Regions from separate parts of the Homo sapiens genome. Here region 2 is linked to region 1. Evidence: promoter capture Hi-C in 16 types of primary human blood cells and fetal thymus (Javierre and others, 2016). All regions are on one chromosome and are shown on one strand. Each heading gives the region's core, a stretch centred on a gene start or on the middle of the fragment in contact. The rest is flanking DNA. Distances are from core to core; before and after follow the strand shown.

What was found. The method cuts DNA at HindIII sites, captures the fragments that hold promoters and counts their contacts. A CHiCAGO score of 5 or more calls a contact.
Region 2: a contact is called between a fragment that was not itself captured here and the fragment with the promoter of CHST8 in region 1, in 1 of 17 cell types (M2 macrophages). The highest score is 5.0, in M2 macrophages.

The regions. Positions count from the first base shown.
Region 1 is chr19:33,620,145-33,623,592 of GRCh38, reverse strand. It overlaps CHST8 (carbohydrate sulfotransferase 8), which reads right to left and starts at 1,640. Exons shown (of 5, transcript NM_001127895.2): 1 at 1,297-1,640. RefSeq lists an enhancer at 1,935-2,679. The HindIII fragment of the contact is 23,667 bases long and covers 1-3,448 here.
Region 2 is chr19:34,081,796-34,085,243 of GRCh38, reverse strand. No RefSeq gene overlaps it. Among named protein-coding and RNA genes, the nearest start is that of LSM14A, 89 kb to the left of the region's middle. The HindIII fragment of the contact is 1,189 bases long and covers 1,007-2,195 here.

The sequences.
Region 1 (3,448 bases), core at 391-2,890:
CCAGGAAAGTGGGCTTGGTATTGTAGCTCCTGGGGGCCTTGGGCGGCGGTGGGAAATAAAAGGGGGTTGATCTGCCTCTTACCCCTCTGTCCCCCGCCCCTCTCCACCATCCACTCCAAAGCAGCTACTACCTCCCTGCACCCAACGCCTCTCCCACGTGCTCTGCTGCTGCGCCAGATCGCGCCAAGCAGATGGAGAGGGGCCGGGACGCGCGTTCCCCTTAACGGAGCTGATCACGGCTCCTGAGCCAGCGGGAGTGGCCCAGGGACGCAGAGTCCTCTGGGACGCCGGAGACGACTGCAGGACAGAGAGCCCCAGGATCGGCGCCTACTTCTGGGTTAAAACAGACAGCCGGGCAGCAGCGCCCACAGCCGAGGGCGCCGCAGCCGCTTCAACTCCGGGTCGGGGTCGCGGGCCTGGAGACAAGATGTACGCGAAAGTTAGGGCGGCGGGAGTCCCGCACTGGAGAAGGAATCGGGGTCACATCAGACCCAAGCCCCAGCATCGGGCACTGCCAAAACCCGTGATCGCCCTCCTGGCCCGGCTGGCCTCCAGCGAGGCCAGAGCGGGTCTGCAGAGTCGGTAGCCGGAGTTGCAGCCGCCGTCAGAGCTCGGCTCGGTCCCGCGGCCAAACGGATCATTTCCCCGCCCCCTGGAGCCGCCCCAGGCTCCGACTCCCGCACTCCCGACACACGCACGCACACACCTTCACACCATCGCTGACGCACGCACACTCGCCTCCAGCACTCACAGGCCGGTGCCCTGGAGAGTTGCGGGTCGGGGACGCGCGCGACGGAGCCGCTGGGTAGGAAGCCAAGGCCACTTAAACTTCCCCCATAGTCTCTGCCCGCCGCAACCCGTCCGGAGCCCCGGCTCCGAGCGCGCCAGGAAGCCCCAGCGCCCCGAGCGCTCCTGCCTGGCCCTCGGCGCTCGCTGCTCAGCGCCCGACGCCGCCTCCCCGCGGGCAGCACCGAGGGCCAGGAGGCGGAGCGGGAGTCCGCAGGGACCAAGAGGGCCCGAGGGACGGCAGTTCCCAGAAGCGCGGCAGCGAGTGAGATCCAAGGAGAGAAAGTCTAATTAAAGTTCCCGCTACCGGGGCCGGTCCCCAAAGTGCAACCAGACCCGAGCCCCGCGCGCCCACCTCCGCCCGCAGCTTCGGACTCCCATTCGCGTGCGGTGGCGGGGATGGCGAGCGGTGCAGTCCGGGGCCCGCTCGGGACCCCTTCCTGGCGTCTCTGCAGGCCAGGAGCCTGCGCAGGGCGGGAACAGGGGTGGGGCAGGGGCGCAGCCACTTACCTGGCGCAGCGGACGCACCCGAGGCCGCGGGCGCCTCCAGTCCGGGAGCGGTTCTCCGCGGCGGATCCTCTGCTTGGGGCGCGCAGGCGGCGGAGAGGACCTCCGACCCAGCTCGGGCCCGGTGCCTCCGCCCGCTCCAAGCGGAACCCAGTGCGATCTGTGGGCGAGCAGCGTGGGGCCGGCAGCCGGAGCGTGCGGGGAGCGAGAGGGCGCGGGGCGGCGTTCCTCTTCGGCCCCCGGCGCGATCGGTCCCCCACCTCCTGCTGCCGCCGCCGCCTCGTCCTCTCTCCTCCCCGCAGCACTGCCGGATCCGGCTTGCGCGCCGGGAAGGCTCCCAGCGAAGTGAGAGCGAAGCCTCCGGCGAGGCTGGAAATAGCGCCGCGCCCGCCCGGCGCCCCGCCCCCGGCCCGTGCCCCGCCCCGCCGTGGTGGCGGCTACGGCGGTGGCCGGGCCGGGCGGGGATCGCTCCAGCGATGCACTCGGCCCTCCCGGGGGCTCGCGGGCGCCGCGCCCACGCGCGCTCTGCGGCTCCCGCGGCCCCTCTGGCAGCGCTCTCAGAAAGAGTCGCTGCTGGGCGCGGTCCGGCGGCCGCGGGGGTGGGAGCGGTCGTGGCTGGGGCTGCGCCGGTCTCCCGGTTCAGGAGAGCCGGACTCCGGCCTGACGCTAGGCTCCAGACCGCGGCCAGTGCTGCCACTGCCTCGGTGGGTCGCACGCGGCGCCAACCCGGGAAAAGGACCAGGCGTCACCGGGGCGGGCCTTGACCACAGCGGGGCAGGGGCGCGCGCCCAGGACCCGATGCTGCGGGGGCGCAGGGCCGGTGAAAGGCGGAAGATTGATCCTGAGGAAGATTCTGGGATATCCCTGGGCTTCAGCTCGCGTGGAATTCGGTCAAGGCCGCGAGCTGCCTCAGGCCCGGGTGTCCGCATCCATCCTCAAATCCCTGGGGCTCTAGATTCTGCTGAAAGTGCCCTGCGAACAGGTGCTCCCTTCAGGACTTCATCCTGGAAGTTTGTGTCGGGTCACCAGCCTGAGAGCGGGGCCAACCGACCCTCTTCATACACACTCGGGAAAACAGCGTGGAGGGTGGAACCGGCCCACGGCCACACAGCACCGGGACAGAGTAGGGACAGGAACACGGGGCCCTGGATTCGGGTCCTTGTTCTTCCTAAGAAGAGGCAGCCCCAGCCTGCAGGGGACAAGCAGGCCTTGGGAAGGGGGGCAACTGCTTTCTCACAGGAGCTGGAGGAAACTGTGCACACAGTCACCTGTTAGTCTTGAAGGGACACTCAGTATTTTCAAACAACAGCAGAGAAGCCTTTAATAAAGTGAAAGACCCTTACTCTCTCCTCTCTAATGGTACCTGCTGGCTGGTTGGCCTGACTCCTACCAGCTGACCTAGAGTGAGTGATGGAATTGGGGAGTGAGCTGGGCCCATGGGTCTTGACTGACCAGAGTGGGGGACACCAGGCGGAGAGCAGAGCCACTCCTGGGGACGGCCAGGGAGCCCCTCAGCCCCAGGGCCATGAGGCCTCCTTAATGCCCCAGGTAAGCTCAGAGCATCCAAAAATAGACCAGGACAGATAAGAAGATAAATAGAAGCATGACAAAGAGATCATGGTCTTCCTTTAATTCTTGCAGCAACAGAGTAGACATTATCACTCCCGTATTACAGATGAGCGAATTGAGATGCAAAAATGCCACCATTTTGCTGGACTCCACGCATCTGGAGAATGGCCCAGGTGTGATGATTCCAAACTGGGATAGGCTTTGTTCTGGGGTTCCCTTTCCAGGACTTTAGGCTCGGAGTGACCCAGGCCTGGGGCTGCGCTGGGACCCAGGCACACTCCACTGGCTGCACGCATGAGGGGAATGTGTGTGTGTGTGTGTGTGTGTGTGTGTGTCTGAAATCACCCTCCTCCGCCTCAGTCAGGTGCAGATTGGAGGAGCTGAGTGCAAGGGCCAGGGACTCAAGTGTCAGGAAAAACAGGGCAGTGGAACCCTTATTCATCCTACATCCCAAAGCTGTTGGAGCAGAGCAGGAGAGAAGGTAGGAACAAAGAGAGGGGAGAGTGGAGTGAGCAAAAAGTCACTTGCCGGACTAGCTCACAGTGCAATGACCCCATCCCTGTCCCTGTGGTCCCCTTACCCCACA
Region 2 (3,448 bases), core at 352-2,851, 460 kb before region 1:
CCAGAATATTTCACCCCAAAAATAGACTTCTTTGGCATATTTTGAGATAATTATTCAGAGAAACTGCAGACAAGAATAGCCCTGAAAAGCTGTCTTTGGTGGAGGAGATTTGCATCTGTAGAGAAAATCTACATTAGTGAAATAAGCAGCCAGGCTTTCTCTGAGCACCCTCTTCTCCAGATCTAGGAAAGATGAGCTCACAGGAAAAAGAGACTAAGAGCCTAACACGTTTAAAGGTTTGTCAGAGAAACTTTGCCACAGTCCACTTCTATTCTTTCTGAGAGCTGCTACCTGTGATGCTTCATTTGCATGACAAGACCACTTTGACAAATTTTCCTTCTTTCCTTTTCCCATAACCTGTGTGCTACCTCTTCTGGAAGCCCCAAGCCCCTTATTCTTTCTGTAGCCTCAGGATAGCATAAAAATTCCACTCAACTGTGGCTCACTCCTGTAATCCCAGCACTTTGGGAGGTCAAGGCAGGTGGATCACTTGAGCTCAGGAGTTCAAGACCAGCCTTGGCAACATGGCAAAACTCCATCTCTGCAACAACAACAAAAATTATCCAGGCGTGGTGGCACATGCCTGTAGTCCCAGCTACTCTGGAGGCTGAGGTGGGAGGAGGATTGCTGGAGTCCAGGAGAGCGAGGCTGCAGTGAGCCTAGATGGCACCACTACACTCCAGCCTGGGCAATAGAGTGAGATCCTGTCTAAAAATAAAAATAATAATAATAATAATCACTCACTGGGCTCTTTGAGTTTTCATATTTTCTGTGACATCCCTGCATAAGTGTGCATGTAAAAAATTTGTTATACTTTTCTATTGTTAACCTGCCTTTTGTTACAGGGGATTACCCCCTTTCTGCCCCTACACTTTCAATAATATTTTATTTACAAAAATAGGTGGTAGAACAGATTTGACACCCAGGCTATAGTTTACTCATATTTGCTTTAGAATCTTCTGATAGATTTAGATTTTCTGATTAGTGGGTAATATTAAAGAAAGCTTAATCCATATATTAGTTAATAAGTACATCTTTTCAAGCTGTCACTTAGTTGACACTGAAGGAGCCTTGCAAAAGCGTTAAGGGCGCTTTGTCATACTCTGTGAACTGTTTCAGCCCTGGAGCCTGTCTGTGTGGCCTTCCATAGTGTTATACTTCATATGATTTTAGAGTGACAGTAATGGGAATGGAACTGCCAGATGGAAGGCTGACTGCATGTCAGAGGCTAGGCCAGATGCATTCTATTCATCCTCACTACTCATTTTCCTAAGGACAAGTGTATCTCCTCATTTTATAGATGGTGAAACTGAGGCTTAAAGAAGCCCAAGATAACACATCTCGTAAGTGGTGGAGGCTACAGTCAATCCTGGTAATTTAACATAAAAGATCATGTTCCTATCCACGTTATGAAATCACATTTCTGTGATGCCCGTATCTCCTTTAGAGCTTGTTAAAGTCATCCTTTAAAAATGTCTATTGGCATCAAGGGTGATTTTTTTTTCTTGAGATGGAGTCTCGCTTTGTTGCCCAGACTGGAGTGCAGTGGCACAACTTCAGCTCACTGCAACCTCTGCCTCCTGGGTTTAAGTGGTTCTCCTGCCTTAGCCACCTGAGTAGCTGGGATTATAGGCACCCGCCACCATGCCCAGCTAATTATTGTATTTTTAGTAGAGACATGGTTTTGCCTGGCTGGCCTGACTGGTCTCGAACTCTTGACCTCAGGTGATCCATCGCCTCAGCCTCCCCAAGTGCTGGGATTACAGGCGTGAGCCACTGCGCCCGGCCCAGTGACAATTACTTAATACAGTATTTCTTTTGTTAAATAATTTTTAATTTTAAGGATTTTAAGGATTCCCCAAACAGAGAGATACACTTTTTTTTTGTTTGTTTGGTAATTGGAGGTTGTGCACAGGGAGAGGATAGATTCTTGCATTCATTTTAGTTCACAATAGAATCCATCAGTTGGCGGGAATTGTTAATTCTCCCTTGGGGGAAATCAAGTGCCTGAGGCAGTGATTGATAAATCAATAAATCTTTAGTGGGTCTGGTAAATCAAGTGTCACACGTATGTCAACCTTTTCTCCAGATTATAGATTTTACCCAGGACAAGTGTGTTTCTTCCTTTCCATCATTTTCTCCTTCAAAATTGCAACATACTAAGGTATTTAAACAAATCCTTAAGATTGTAAGCTTTTTTTCTTCTTTTTCCATTTTTAAAAGATAGCATAAGGGATCATGCTTTTCTCAGCTATTTTAGGGCAAGAACTCAGTTGTTTGCATATTTGCATTTCAACCCCTAACCTCTCCTGAGGACAAATGGCTGTCTGACGATGAAGCCCACAGGCACAGCGCCGGGACTGTGGATTAAGCCTCTGAATGCTGACTAGTTTTCAGCAGCATTCCCAGCGTGTGTGAAGAATGTGTTTGTAGCTGGGAGGCAAACAGAACATCCAAAGCCGAGCAAGAATTTTGAAAAATAGTTGTCTTATGTATAAATGTATTTTTGCTCTTAGTGTTTTCTTCTTGCCGATTTCATTATTCCAGATTTCTGCTTTCTTTTAAAATAGCTCCATTGTGTTTGATATTCTCATAATATTCTCTCAAGTTTTGGTCACTTGATTTTTTCAAAATGTTCTTCTTTTTTTTTTTTCTTTATCATTTAAACACCCAGCCATGGATGGCTGGCTTAGATATTTCTCCCCGCTGGTAGGGAAGACCTGGTGACTTCCACACAAGACGCCTGTAAGGCCTTTGCTCTTCACAAATCAGGGCCCAGTTGGAAGCTTTGGCAGGTACTGAGGGCGACAGCTTAGGTTTTTAGCTCTTATAATAGGAACAGCAAGGCTTAGGGCTGTGGATTTATTTCTCTTAACAGTTTAAGTTATCATTGTGCCTGCTTTTAGGGCCAAAGAAATGAATTCTCTTAACCGGCTCTTTATTCTTTAGTGAAGAAACATATATTGTAGAAGTGTGAGTTCTGCTTGGGTAGAAAAACCAAACTAATTTGATGAATTGGCACATTGGCTTAAAGGGTCCCCAATAGTAATCTGTTGAGAATCTGCTTTTTCCAAACTGTCAGTGTTGGGAAGGCATGGCACGACCCAATGTGAAGTAAAATCTGGTTCCTGTTCTCAGGAGCTCAAGGAACAAATGTAGAATAAAGAGAATGCCAGAAAACTTATCAGTGAAAGCATCTAGTTTGAGAAATTGTGGACCAGGGAGCATTGAAGGTGGAGCCTTAAAAGATTGGTATCATTGGCCAGGTGCAGTGGCTCACCCCTGTAATCCCGGCACTTTGGGAGGCTGAGGCGGGCCAATCACCTGAGGTCAGGAGTTCGAGACCAGCCTGGCCAACGTGGTGAAACCCTGTCTCTACTAAAAATGCAAAAATTAGCTGGGTGTGATGGTGGGCGCCTGTAATCCCAGGTACTTGGGAGGTTGAGGT